Regions from separate parts of the Homo sapiens genome. Here regions 1, 2 and 4 are each linked to region 3. The links are contacts of gene promoters, found by promoter capture Hi-C in blood cells and fetal thymus (Javierre and others, 2016). All regions are on one chromosome and are shown on one strand. The core of a region is centred on a gene start or on the middle of the fragment in contact, and the rest is flanking DNA. Distances in the headings are between cores, read along the strand shown. Region 1 holds the start of VIPAS39 (VPS33B interacting protein, apical-basolateral polarity regulator, spe-39 homolog). Region 2 holds the start of POMT2 (protein O-mannosyltransferase 2). Region 3 overlaps RBM25-AS1 (RBM25 antisense RNA 1). Region 4 holds the start of SNW1 (SNW domain containing 1).

Region 1 (3,480 bases), core at 394-2,893, 4.4 Mb after region 3:
AGGCAACCTTGAGTTCAAATCCTGGTTTCTCTTAATTCTGAGCAAAGTGGATAAATGACTTTACTTCTAAGCCTTGGAGAAAATTATATCCTATCTCACAGGGTTGCAGGGAACATCTATAAAAGTGTCTAGCAGAAAGTAAATACTAAATGTTATTTCCTTTTAATATGGAATATCATACTGACATTTTTCTGTCTTGGTTTTCCCGTCTGTTAAATGGGCATAACAGATGACCTACCTTAGAAATGGTTCTGAGGAGTAAACCAGTTAATACATGTAAAGTGCTTAGTGCCTGACCCAAAATTAACACTCAATAGTAACTTTTATTATTAATACATCATCCTGGTACCTTGGGAAAAGCTAAAAAAGAAAATATTTTTTAGCAATCCTAAAGATTAAAAAAAATACAAAAATTCTGAGTAGCCACAAATGCTGAAGATGTGTATAGAACATATAAATGTCTCTGGCACACATGTCAGTTCATAAATCACTCTGTCATTCGTTTGATCCTCAGAACAATCTTGTAAGGTAGGCCTGGGAGATTCCATTTCCATGTTACTCATGGGGAAAGTGAGGCACAAAAGAGTTCAGTATCAAAGCCACTTTGTTAAATGCTCCTATTTCAAATTACAATCCAGGCTTTCTGGCTCCTAGACCATTTCTAGTGTCTTGCATGGTCCTTCTACCTATTTTTCACTTTCCAGAAAACTAGAGATCATTCCTTCACTATAGTAATTATCTACAGATAGACATAGAATGTGTCTAACAAACACAATAATCTACCAGAGGATTTCTGGAATCTTTTTAACCATGCAATGGCAGTAGACAACTGCCATCAATTTGTATTTATAACGCCAAATGAGAAGCTAGGTTTACTTGGCAAGTATAGATAATGATCTAGTGGCTCTAGAGTTATAAAGTAATCAGGTACGATTGTCACTCTTAAGAGTGACAGGTGCTTCAACATGATTTAAAATACTTCAGAGGTTTGTCTTTATCGTCTCTTGTTTACTGACAGCCCACAAGGCAGGGTGAGAGACCTCAGGGGAGAACAGGAACTTTACAAAGGAAAACAGAAGAATCAGCAAGAAAACCACAACATGCTCCCTGCCTCAGAAAACTCCAAAAACCACCTACTGAGAAGTCAGACTTGGTTTCAATTATCTTCCGAGCCAGGAAGATACAGGTGAGGCTTGTGAACTGAGACCAGGGAACAAGAGTTAAGCTAGGATGACTCTACGGGTGAACGTCCAGGAAGCCATGGATCTACCGCAGTCGTCAGAGCCCAGCGGATCCCTGGCAGAGTTAAATGCTCGTTCTGAACCAAATGTCCGCTTCCGAACCAATCGCTGGTGCTCACTCGCAGCCCCAGTCCCAAGCGTACTCCAGCGCCCAAGGGTCGCCCTGACTGAAAGAAGAGAATCAGGCCTGTAGTCATAGGGTGTAGGGATGCCTCCTAGAAGAGGGGAAAAGATCAAGATGCGGAGAGGCTGGATCCAGCCAGATACGCGACCCAAGGGGCTTGGGACACCCTCACCTCTTCCGCACAGAGCCCTCCCTCTCAGGACAGCGCCAGCCTCCGCCGCCGCTGGACCAGCCCTTCTATTCAGGCTGTGCAGCTTAGAGAAGGGGGCGGAAGGGAATAATCGTAGGGCGGAGAGAAAACACGAATAACGAGACCGCAGGGCATGCTGGAAGTCGTAGTTTCTTCTGCCTCTGCTGTCAGGCGCTGTCCCGACGAACCACAAGGCTTCTTGACTACAGCCCCCAGAAACCCCAAGCACCGTGCTAGGTCATTTCCTCTCCTTTCCGCGAGACCTTCCGCGGTTATCCAGCGAGTCACGTAGCAAGACTACAATTCCCATGAGGCTCAGCAAGGGCGATTTAGGGTCCAGGGAAGCAATGAGACGTGTTCTTTGTTTTCCTATGGGTGAGGAATGGTTGTATGAGCAGTTGGGTTTCGGGACGCTTTTTGGGGAGAACCCGATGGAGTCTGAAGGATCTCTAAATCAGGCGGAACCCACGGTGCGGCGAGTTGGGACGGAAGTAACCGGTGGGAGTGGGGAGGAGCCGGAAGTTAAGGAGGGGAGGGGGTGGAGGGAAAAGCAAGCCAGGAGGTGCTTGCGGCCGCTTCTAGTAGTTTCCAGGCGCTGCCGGGCGGCTGGCACTAAGCGGTCCTGAGGCTGTGGCTACGGCTGCTCCGGAGCTGGTGGCGCCGCGATAGGAGAGCCGATGGCCAAGTGGGGTGAGGGAGACCCACGCTGGATCGTGGAGGAGCGGGCGGACGCCACCAACGTCAACAACTGGCACTGGTGAGGGCCAGAAAAGCAGGCCGGCCTTGGGAGACCTGCGGCCGGGCCAGGGTTTCAGGGTTCCTAGAACCTCGGCCCGGACAGAGCTGGGGCTGAGGTAGCCCTGTCCGGAGATGGGGGTGGGTCCTTCCTGTGGCAGGGGTCCGTAGCCCCAGGCCTCTCCACTCCGCGGTCACCTTCTCAGTGTTTGAGGGGAGGGAGATGGACGTGGAGGGCTGCGCCCCAGAGGAGGGTTGTCAGAGAGACTAGGAGATAACGCCCTGGCTGCTGCATCCAGCCCGAGCAGGGAGGTGCTTATTACACGTGGCCAGAGGAGTCACTGAGACTGGAACCTCCTTTGATTGTGTTGGGAGATAGCTGTGAAAGGCCTAAGGCCAGGGGTCTGTAATTCCTATTTTGCGGCCTGCGGTAAAATTAAAAGTCATTCATAGGGGACCGCTGCAGCGGTCCCGCGGGAGATTGAGAACGTGTTGTGCAGGTGCTCAGAGCTCAGATAGCTGCGGCCTCTCACCCGGAACTATCAGGTCGGGTGTGTTGGAACTCCAGGTTGCCGAGCAGCCGTGGTTTTATAACCTGACCGTTCTTAAAATAACTGCCCTCCTTCATGAAATCTTCCCAAAGTAATATTAGTTTCCTTATTTTTGAATTCCACTGAACTTTTTTCGTAATGTTTGTATTGTACCGTTACTTTGTTGCAGCCTTTTTTGCTGTTGTTTTCTCTAATAGTTGATAAGTAGGAAGGCAGATAGTGATGTTTCTTTTCCATATCTCACTTTGTATTCTCTCTTCTTAACATGCAGAGTACTTGACCTAATTTTTGTTGTTTGTTTTGAAGCCCTGGACTTAACGTTTTTGTGGCCATCTAGGGGACAGTGAATGTGTAGGAAGTTTATAATGCAAGTGCGAATCTGATAGGTCAGAACACCGTGCCAATGAGGTCAGGGTTATTGGTTTAATCCTTTCTGGGCCTTTTAGCTAAGTACTATTCTTTCATGGTCCAGTCTGTGTTCCTGATCTCAGCAATATGTGCAGTTTTCCACTTGGTCAAATGGGGGCGCCATGTTAAAGTATCAAGTATTCCCCCGCACCATCATGCCGAGAAAGGAGAGCATAATTTTCCATTGAGTTTATACCATTTTCTACAGCAGCTGTCTTTGTTGACAGTGTG
Region 2 (3,367 bases), core at 868-3,367, 4.3 Mb after region 3:
GGCTTTGTCGCCTAGGCTGGAATGCAATGGTGCGATCTTAGCTCACTGCAACCTCTGCTTCCCAGGTTCAAGTGATTCTCCCACCTCAGCCTCCCGAGTAGCTGGGATTACAGGCACCCGCCATCATGCCCGGCTAAGTCTTGTATTTTCAGTTGAGACGGAGTTTCACCATGTTGGCCAGGTTGGTCTCGAACTCCTGACCTCAGGTGATCTGCCCGCCTCGGCCTCCCAAACTGCCGGGATTACAGGTGTGAGCCACTGCGCCCAGCCTGGTAATTACTTTCTTAAAAAAATTTTTACAAGGGTAGTGGGCTATTGTAATTACTGGTAATGACACCAAAGATCAGAGATCAATCTGAACCCCTGTGCACAGGTCACAGTGGTTAATAGACTGGTCTTAGACTGCAGCCCAGATGTCTGAAATAAGATTCCTCGGTGCCCCCAGGACTTATTCACAAGTGGCTGAATCCAGGACCCTGGAGGGCATGGTTGAGGTAAATACTGTAAGCTGGCCTTATTCTGCTGCTTAGAGTCCCATTGACAACAACCTTAATTAAATGCTGTAAGGGACAAACTGAAAAGATGTGAGTAGCCAGGGGAGTTGTATATTCATGTGAAAATCTGCTAGAAGCCAAGACCATAGAATCGAGGAGTGAGAGAGGCTGTCAGATTGCTCGTGCCTCTACACATCATTCTGGGTATACCAAGAATGCAAGGCCCTGACTGCATCTCACCTGGGCCATTTCTCATGGTTGTGTTTGCAGCAAGCAACTTTGAGAGAAGAGGCAGTGTCTCCCTCCAGGACAAAGAGGAGGTCTGCGTACTGCCTTCTATAAAACAGCAGATTTTCCAAGCTTGTCGTTCCTTCACTTGGATGCAACCCACTGCCTGTGCAGTCATCCATTTAAACCCATAGCGTCACCCTGTGGGACTTGGATGGCAAGGGAAACTGCTTCTAACATGCATCCTATTTCCTGTAATAAAGTCCTTTGTCTCTAACCCAGGAGTCTCATCTTCTGCCAGCAGTCACGACACAATAACAAGCTAATTTATTAATTTCTAAATAAAGCAACCCTGACAGTCTGTTTTCTTGCCTGCTTTTTGCTTAAAGAATTCCATTTCTGACACCCAGTATCTGGATAGTACAAGCTAAAACCTTTAAGAAAATAAATCTCTTCTCACAAGAAGAGTTCTGCCTCATAAAATCCTTTGGTCACCATACCTGAACACCCAAACTGTCCTTGCCCTATAGGATAAAGGTACACAGTTAGGTATTTTCTCCTCTGTTGATGCCTGAAAATCCTGCAGACATAGGAACTCAGGCCTTAGAAAATTCTGTACCCAAAAATTTGCAATTCTCTTTGGAAAGTTGAAAGCACCTTTAAAAGCCACAATTTGCAAGCCAGGTGATGCACTGTAGCATAACCTGGAAGACATGAGGGCTGCTTCCTCAGATACTAAGAATCCCACTGCCCCACCACCAGAGCAAAACGATCCCCCTCCCAGAGAATGCACCTCGCCAGAGGCCAACCCACCCGATACCTCAAGTTCCCCTCCACCGTGGCCCTCCTCCTATAGATCCCGCCCCCTCCGTACCCTCGGGCCAATCAGAGGGCGGCGTCCCGTCGCGGTTGCCATGGTGCCCGCCGAGTCCCTCCCATCACTCACCAGATGTGCGGCGGCTCGTCCAAGCGGTGGAAGCGGGTGGCGAAGGACAGCAGCGTCACCAAGGCCAGCAGGGCCCACCAGCCGACCGCCTCGAAGCGCCGTGAGCCCCAAGCAGGCCGTTTGGGGCTTCGCGCCACAGCCTCAGCGGCCACGTCCCGGCCTGCGGCCCTAGCAGCCTGGGGGCCACAGCGGCCCCTCCGGGGACGCAGCTCGGACTCTGCCAGGCCTCCGCCCGTGGCCGGCGGCATCTTCCCCCTCCTCTGGGTCGCCCTCCGGCCCGGAGGCACACTTTGTCTGACCAGCCGCCCCGCCAAGGAGTCACAAGAGGGCAGCTCGGGGTACCCCGGGAAATGCAACGCCCTTCACTGCAGCGGAGCGCGGGGCCCCGGGCTCGGGGCGGGGCGGGCAGCGTGGTCGCGGCCCGGGCCGCTAGGAGGCGGCAGGAGGCGCAGAGCATGTCGGGACCGGGAGGGCCGGCCGGCCCGGGGCGGGGGGGACTGGGCAGGAGGGGTCGGGCTCAGGGAACTGCAACTCCCAGCAGCCCCCAGGTACGGGGCGTGGCGGGAGAGCTGGGCGAGCCAGAGGCGACCGGAAGGATCTTTCTAGTCCAGCCCCTCGCTTTACCCGGACGAAAGACACGGGCCTGATTCGTCGAGTCTCACTGAGCCTTAGTCGTCGGCAGGTCCCAGGCGCGAAGTTTCTCGGCCTGGAGGAGGGGGTCGCGCGAAGTGCCAGATGCAGGCGGGGAAGGTCTGTGACGCGCACCCGGGTGGAGGGAAGCTGGTTAGACACCTGGAGACCCTGGGGGGCGGGGTCAGAAGTGAGCTGCACCGCCCGCCCAGGCCGACAACGACTCCCGGCATGCAGTGCTTTGCGCCGGGCACGCTCTGCGCCTGCGTGCTGCGCGCTGCCCGCTGGGGCTCGAAGTTCCGGGAGGGTTGGGCCAGAGGAGGCGGTCCTGGTAGGGAGTGCGTAGCAGGGTGGAGTCGCTGTCCGGTCGCGCTTCACTTCTGCTCCGCCCTCCCTGCTCCCCATAACAGACCCCTCCCTCCACTAAGGCTTCCAAACGTCGCCCCAAGCCTCCCAATTTCTCGCAGCCCTTCATGCTCTTCTCTTGGCCCTAGCAGGAGGTGACCTTCCAGTAATGTTTGTATTTTAAGAGTCCCCGGGCCGGGCGCGGTGGCTCACGCCTGTAATCCCAGCACTTTGGGAGGCCGAGGCGGGCGGATCACAAGGTCAGGAGATAGAGACCATCCTGGCTAACACGATGAAACCCTGTCTCTATTAAAATACAAAAAAATTAGCCAGGCGTGGTAGCGGGCGCCTGTAGTCCCAGCTACTCGGGAGGCTGAGGCAGGAGAATAGCGTGAACCCAGGAGGCGGAGCTTGCAGTGAGCCGAGATCGCGCCACTGCACTCCAGCCTGGGCGAAAGAGCGGGACTCCGGCTCAAAAAAAAAAAAAAAAGGCCCCGAGCGAGGAGAGGCAGTCATGACAATCACCTGGGGAGCTTCACGGCTTTCACATGTTCTTCCCGGGGCCTGCTCCAGAGCCACTCTGTTCATCTCTGGTGGAACGGGCTCGAGAATCTGCATGTTTTTATAAGCGGTCTAGATGGTTCTTAACGTGCCATGAAGTTTGAGAACCACTTTTGTGGCACTAAGGAAGGTGGCACGTTAGATGGGACTTTGCGTCACGTTA
Region 3 (3,139 bases), core at 576-3,075:
TAAGTGTATCATTTAGAGTTCTTTCTGTGTAAGGAATAGAAAACTCAACTCAAACTGATTTCGGAAAAGTAATGTATTGGGTTACATACTGATAAGCCTAGAACAGCTGGCTTTAGGAGTAGCTGAGCCAGCCGGGCTCAGTGTAATCCTGGCTTTTGGGAGGCTGAGGTGGGAGAATCGCTGGAGCCTGGAAAGTTGAGGCTGCAGTGAGCCGTGATCATGCCACTGCACTCTAGCCGGGACAACAAAGGGAGACCCTATCTCAAATAACAACAGCAATAACAAACCAAAAAACAAACAAAATGAATGAATGAACCATTTTCTCAACTGATATTGTCAAAAATCTCTCACCCTGTCTTACTTCTGCTTTCTTCTGTGATTTCATTCTCATCCCCATCTATTCTAAGCTTAAATCCTCCTAAGCTTAAATTGAAAAAAAAAAATCAATTTAAATGAAAAATATAGAGACCCCTCCCCTTCTTTTTAGGATTATTCCTGAAAGGATGAAGCAGTATAATGTTCCAGAGCACGAACTCAGGAACCAGACTGGCTCACTTACTATTTTTGTAGCCTTTGATAGGTTAATTTTTGCAAGCCTTGGTTTCTTCATTTGTATCACAATAGTTCTTACTTCAGGGGGTTGTTATGAGGATTAAAGGAGTTGATATTTGCAAAATGCTTTAAACAGTGGCTAGTACCAAAAAAAAAAAAAAAAAAAAAAGGGAGGGGTGACTAAATCATCAGGTTTTGATTAGGTTGTAAGTTTACTCCTGTGTCCTAAGGGGGTCTGGTTAGAGTTGGGACTTCCTATCCAAAGTACATGGATCTGGAGTAGTGGAAGGATGGTTTCTTTTCTTTTTTTTTTTTTTAGACCGAGTTTTGCTCTTGTTGTCCAGGCTGGAGTGCAATGGCGCGATCTCGGCTCACTGCAACCTCTGCCTGCTGGGTTCAAGCGATTTTCCTGCCTCAGCCTCCTGAGCTGCTGGGATTACAGGTGCCTGCCACCACGCCCAGCTAATTTTTGTTATTTTTAGTAGAGACAGGGTTTCGCCATGTTGGCCAGGCTGGTCTCGAACTCCTGACCTCAGGTGATCCACCCGCCTCGGCCTCCTGAAGTGCTGGGATTACAGGTGTGAGCCACTGCACCTGGCTTTTTTTAGACAGAGTCTTGCTCTGTTGCCCAGGCTGGAGTGCAGTGGCGCAATCTCGCCTCACTGCAACCTCTGCCTCCCAGGTTCAAGCGATTCTCCTGCCTTGGCCTCCCAAGTAACTGGGACTACAGGCACACATCACCAAGCCCAGCTAATTTTTGTATTTTTAGTAGAGGCGGGGTTTCACCATGTTGGTCAGGCTGGTCTTGATCTCTTGACCTCGTGATCTGCCTGCCTCGGCCTCCCAAAGTGCTGGGATTACAGGCGTGAGCCACCGCACCCGGCCAAGATGGTTTCTTTTAAAAAATGTGGAGGGTTCATTACTAAAGGCAAGGGGAATGGATGCTGCATGAACATCAGCAACAAATTGTCTAAGGTAGGAAAGTTAGCAAATTGTTGCCTGAGGGCTCCCTTTATTACACAGTAAACACAAATTCATGTACAATGTTTCTAATAATAAAAAGGGACACAGATTAATCTGAGATTTCTGTTTATGCCTTTTGTTGTAAATAGGCACAAACTCTTGGGCGGCCATGGTGGCTCACAGCTTTGATCCCAGCACTTTGGGAGGTCCAGGTGGGCGGATTACCTGAGGTCAGGAGTTGGAGATCAACCTGGCCAACATGGTGAAACCCCATCTCTACTAAAAATACAAAAGTTAGCCAGGTATGGTGACCCACGCCTATAATCCCAGCTACTGGGGAGGCTGAGGCACAAGAATCGCTTGAACTGGGAGGCAGAGATTGCAGTGAGCCAAGATCACGTCACTGCACTCTAGCCTGGGAAACAGAGACACCTCCTCAAAAAACAAAAACAAAACAAAACAAAAAAAGAAACTCATTTTATTTACAAACAATAAATAGCATTATAGAGTAGCACTATAAAAACTATAAATTTGAATAGCACTTTACTGAACAAAGTACAAACATACATAAGTTAATTTCGTCTCCCAAGTAACTGGGACTACAAGCACTCGTCATCACGCACGGCCAAAGGTATTATTAACTTTAGTTAATGGTAAGGAAACCTAGCAAGCAGAAGTATAGAAGGATGTAAATTTTGCAGATGGTAGTAATTAGTGCTACTTTCTCATTTGTGCTCCCACTAAATTTTGTGTTCTATTGGTACTCATCATATGTTAATCATTTCTTTTCTTTTCTTTTCTTTTTTTTTGAGACAATGTCTCACTTTGTTGCCCAGGCTGGAGTGCAGTGGTGCCATCTCGGCTCACTGCAACCTCCGCCTCCAGGGTTCAAGCGATTCTCCTGCCTCAGCCTCCCGAGTAGCTGGGATTACAGGCGCCTGCCACCACGCCTAGTTTATTTTTGTATTTTCAGTAGAGACGGGGTTTTGCCATGTTGGCCAGGGTGGCCTCGAACTCCTAACCTCAGGTGATCCACCCGCCTCGGCCTCCCAAAGTGCTGGGGTTACAGGCGTGAGCCACCGCGCCCGGCCGGTAATCATTTCTGTCACTCAACAAATATTTATTGAGCGCTTGCTATGTACCAGGACCTGTTCTTGCACAAAACAGGCAATCCATGCATTGCTTACATTCACATTCTAGTGGGGGTAGTGACGGACCATAAAATCAGCAAGAAAAATGTATGTTATGATAGATGGTTATGAGTGCTTTAGAGTAAAATTAAGTAGGGGAGGCAGGCAGGAAGTGTGTAGTATGTTTCAATTTTATATTAGGCTGGTCATGGTTTGTCATCTATTTCACCTGGCTCACAGTTCTTGCAGGACAGGAACAAATCTCACTTCCATTTGCCTTCATACTTCCAGCACTTAACACAGCACCAGGAACTCAGGGAGGCAATAACTTTATACTGAATCCGTTTTATGCCTTCCTAGAGGCAAGCAGTTGAGAAAGGCGTGTAACTAGATATTGCCTATAAGGTCCACAATTGGAATAACGTAATCATTTATGATTAATTTTATTCATTTCCATTAACTTAAGCTAAGTTCTTTTAGCACGTTTAGATTAC
Region 4 (3,341 bases), core at 84-2,583, 4.7 Mb after region 3:
AAAAAATTTCAGATGCCGGGCATGGTGGCTCATGCCTGTAATCCTAGCACTTTCGGAGGCCGAGACAGGAGGACTGCTTGAGGCCAAGAATTCAAGACCAACCTGGCCAACACAGCGAGACCGCATCTCAAAAAATAAAGTTAAAAAAAAAAGCAAAAAAATTTTAGAAACGAGGGTGGGGAGAAAACTCTCCAGCCCACATAACTTATTCCATTCAATTCTTTTTGCACTAAGGTTAGTATTACACAAATGCACATTTTGTGTTCTGTAATTGTTTTATGTCTGTATACCTTGCACCCCTATCTTCCCTGTTGCCAAAGACAGATTTTCTTCTGTGTACACAACCCCCAGGACAGAGCAAGGCACCAACAGTAATTCCCAAAATAATTTTTTGATTAAAACTTTTGGAGTCATACTGTCATCAGCCAGAAAAAAAAACATGCGTGAGGAGAATGAAGGGTGTTAAAAGAGCTCAAGCTGATGTCCTGAAAGGATTACTTTATCTATAACCTTCCTGAACACTAGCCTTTTCCTGTTGAGTTCGCATGGAAAGTTTTTCCACTTAAAATGGGGCAGCAAGGCTGGGAACTAGTAGGAGTAGCGTAACTTCTCGGACTCTCCCACTGAAAAGCATCTTTTTCTTAAAGGCGGAGAGCACTTTACAGACGGTTACTAAGGTAACCGGAAACAGCAAAACTGAGGTGGTTCTATCTACGGAAGAAATTCTAAGCTCCAAAGTTAAAATGCGGAGCAGTGGCGCATATCAGCAGACGGCGGTCACTACTGTGGCTCATTTAAATCTGTGTTCAGCTCCGGGCCTCTTTTTTCAGGAATCCTTGTTTCGGGACACCCAGTGGACAGCGAAAGGAGAGAGACCACCACAGGCAAACGGCCGGAAAGCCGCGCAGTCGCAGCCCGCGCGCTTCACTCCGCCCAAATAAGCCACTACCGTCACCAACCCCATCTCGTTCGCCCGAGCCGCGGACCTGAGGGAGCGCTGTCCGCTCCCCGCAAGATGCTCACGCGAAAAACCCACTCTTCAGTGTCTGAGACCACTCCGCAGCTTTCGGCCTCGGTGAGCGGGTGAACTAAACCCGGGAAACCGCTGAAAGACCCCAGCTTCGACTAGGCCTAGTCGTAGCGGCGGCCAGCGGGAGGGCGTAGCCGTAGTCTTGGCCCACGTCATTCTGTGCCCCGGGTCAGGTCACCGCCCGGAGGGTATGGGAAGAGAAATGAAGAAGACTGGTACTCCCAGACCCTTCCGTATCGAGGACCCCAATCAACAACCCACCTGGTGAGCGCCATCTTCTTCCGCTTCTTCCAGCGCGAGCGACAGCACCGCTGGGCGGGTCTTTCCAGATGATGAGGAGCGGAAAGGAAGGAGTGCGCGATGCGCAGGCGCTCTGGCCGAAAAGGCCTTCTGGGATTTGTAGTTCTTTGAACAGGAGTACCGTTTGTATTCTGACCAGACCAAGCGGTTATCAAGGAATAATCTCTTCAGCTAGCAACAAATGCATAACTCGATCGCTTATATGCGACATGATAGGGCGTTCCCTAGGCAAAATATCAAAGATACAGGGAGATGCCTTTTAGGCCGCTTTATTACGTTCCTTACTCAGTCCCGTTCCCCGAGAAGGGGTACAAAATACAAAAGCTTCCCGGGGACAGCTACTTTAAGTAAGAGTGATAGGGCGTTTAAAACGACAGGTAATAATGAGACTAGCTAATGGAGAGTCCTTGGACTCTCTGAAAACATTCACACTCAAAACTTTTCTTTAAACCATATCCTCTCACCCGCCAAAACACTCTCTTGGGGAGATATTTCGTAATCCTTGGTAATTTACCGAGTGTCTGGGTTCTCTGCCCAGGGTATGACAAGGCTGAAATCTCATAGGAGGCTCTGGAGAAAAATCCATCTCCTAACTCATTCTTGTTGGCAAAAATCAGTTCCTGGCGGTTGTGGGATCGAGTTCCCTGTTTTGTTTTGTGCTGTTAGTGGTGGCCACCCTCAGCTCCTAGGGGTCACTCTCGAGTCCTTCCCACATGAGCCCTATTTATTGGTAGTTCACAACATGGATATTTGCTTTCTGAGGCACATCTTTCTGACTCCTCTTCTGCCACTGTTGGAGAAAAATGCCCTGCTTTTAAAGGGCTCATGTGATTAGATCAGGAGCACCTGGATAATCTCCCTATTTTAAGATCAACTCTTGGCCGGGCGCAGTAGCTCACACTTGTAATCCTAGCACTTTGGGAGGTCGGGGCGGGCGGATTGCCTGAGCTCAGGAGTTCGACAAAGCCTGGGCAACATGGTGAAACCCTGTCTCTACTAAAAATACAAAAATTAGCTGGGCGTTGTGGCGCGCTCCTGTAGTCCTAGCTACTGGGGAGGCTGAGGCAGGAGAATCGTGTGAATCAGGAGACGGAGGTTGCAGTGAGCCAAGATCACGCCACTGCACTCCAGCCTGGCGACAGAGTGAGACTGCGTCTCAAAAAATAAAAATAAATAAATAAATAAATAAATAAATAATATAAAAGAATAGCTGGGTGTGGTGATGTGCTCTTGTTTTCTCAGCTACTTGGGAGGCTGAGGTACAAGAATCGCTTGAACCCAGGAGGTGGAGGTTGCAGTGAGCCGAGATTGCACCATTGCACTCCAGCGTGGGTGACAAAGTAAAATTCTGTCTCAAAAAAAAAAAAAAAATCAACTCTGCCACACCGCATAACAGAATCAGAATCTTCATAGTCATGGCCCCAGGGGTTATGTAGGTCAGGTACTGTGGGGGTTGGGTGAGGAGGAGATCTTGGGGGATATCCTAGAATTCTGCCTGCCACAGCATGTAAACCAAAAAAACAAAAAGAAAAAATCTTTTGGTAAATACAGGATTGTTAATCACATTGTGTAATATAACCTGCATGGCCTGGGAGCCCGAAGATTAGAGTTTAAGATGTAGCTTTGGCTGGGTGTGGTGGCTTGTGCCTTTAATCCCAGCACTTTGGGAGGCTGAGGCGGGCAGATCACCTGAGGTCGGGAGTTTGAGACCAGCCTGACCAACATGGAGAAACTGCGTCTCTACTGAAAATACAAAATTAGCCGGGCGTGGTGGTGCTTGCCTGTAATCCCAGCTACTCGGGAGGCCGAGGCAGGAGAATCGCTTGAACTCGGGAGGCGGAAGTTGTGGTGAGCCGAGATCGTGCGTCGTTGCACTCTAGCCTGAGCAACAAGAGTGAAACTGTCTCAGAAAAAAAAAAAAAAAAAAAAAAGATGTAGCTTCAGCACCAATAAATTCTTATAGGGCAAGTCATTTAATTTATTTGGGCCCCAGTTTTATTGAACTTAAAAT

What was found. Contacts are between HindIII fragments. The CHiCAGO score rates a contact against its expected background, and 5 or more counts as called.
Region 1: the fragment with the promoter of VIPAS39 here is called in contact with a fragment that was not itself captured in region 3 in 1 of 17 cell types (total CD8 T cells); the score reaches 5.6 in total CD8 T cells.
Region 2: a contact is called between the fragment with the promoter of POMT2 here and a fragment that was not itself captured in region 3, in 1 of 17 cell types (total CD8 T cells). The highest score is 5.7, in total CD8 T cells.
Region 4: a contact is called between the fragment with the promoter of SNW1 here and a fragment that was not itself captured in region 3, in 1 of 17 cell types (monocytes). The highest score is 5.8, in monocytes.

Annotation. Positions count from the first base shown.
Region 1 is chr14:77,455,958-77,459,437 of GRCh38, forward strand. VIPAS39 (VPS33B interacting protein, apical-basolateral polarity regulator, spe-39 homolog) reads right to left here and starts at 1,644. Exons shown (of 20, transcript NM_001193315.2): 1 at 1,538-1,644. AHSA1 (activator of HSP90 ATPase activity 1) reads left to right here and starts at 2,136. Exons shown (of 9, transcript NM_012111.3): 1 at 2,136-2,312. The coding sequence starts at 2,233. RefSeq lists enhancers at 1,442-1,964, 1,583-2,042, 1,965-2,487, 2,213-2,392. The HindIII fragment of the contact is 4,049 bases long and covers 1-3,480 here.
Region 2 is chr14:77,318,766-77,322,132 of GRCh38, forward strand. It overlaps POMT2 (protein O-mannosyltransferase 2), which reads right to left and starts at 2,118. Exons shown (of 21, transcript NM_013382.7): 1 at 1,669-2,118. The coding sequence starts at 1,916. GSTZ1 (glutathione S-transferase zeta 1) reads left to right here and starts at 2,271. Exons shown (of 9, transcript NM_145870.3): 1 at 2,271-2,418. The coding sequence starts at 2,404. RefSeq lists silencers at 1,605-1,654, 1,885-2,264 and enhancers at 2,345-2,614, 2,492-3,353, 2,885-2,934. The HindIII fragment of the contact is 6,086 bases long and covers 853-3,367 here.
Region 3 is chr14:73,054,853-73,057,991 of GRCh38, forward strand. It overlaps RBM25-AS1 (RBM25 antisense RNA 1), which reads right to left. Exons shown (of 2, transcript NR_184256.1): 2 at 1,978-3,139. Among named protein-coding and RNA genes, the nearest start is that of RBM25, 2.1 kb to the right of the region's middle. RefSeq lists enhancers at 2,959-3,139, 2,995-3,139. The HindIII fragment of the contact is 2,809 bases long and covers 422-3,139 here.
Region 4 is chr14:77,759,823-77,763,163 of GRCh38, forward strand. It overlaps SNW1 (SNW domain containing 1), which reads right to left and starts at 1,334. Exons shown (of 14, transcript NM_012245.3): 1 at 1,292-1,334. The coding sequence starts at 1,305. SLIRP-OT1 (SLIRP overlapping transcript 1) reads left to right here and starts at 946. Exons shown (of 2, transcript NR_161324.1): 1 at 946-1,294. RefSeq lists enhancers at 524-1,298, 1,206-1,525, 2,073-2,847. The HindIII fragment of the contact is 7,128 bases long and covers 1-1,652 here.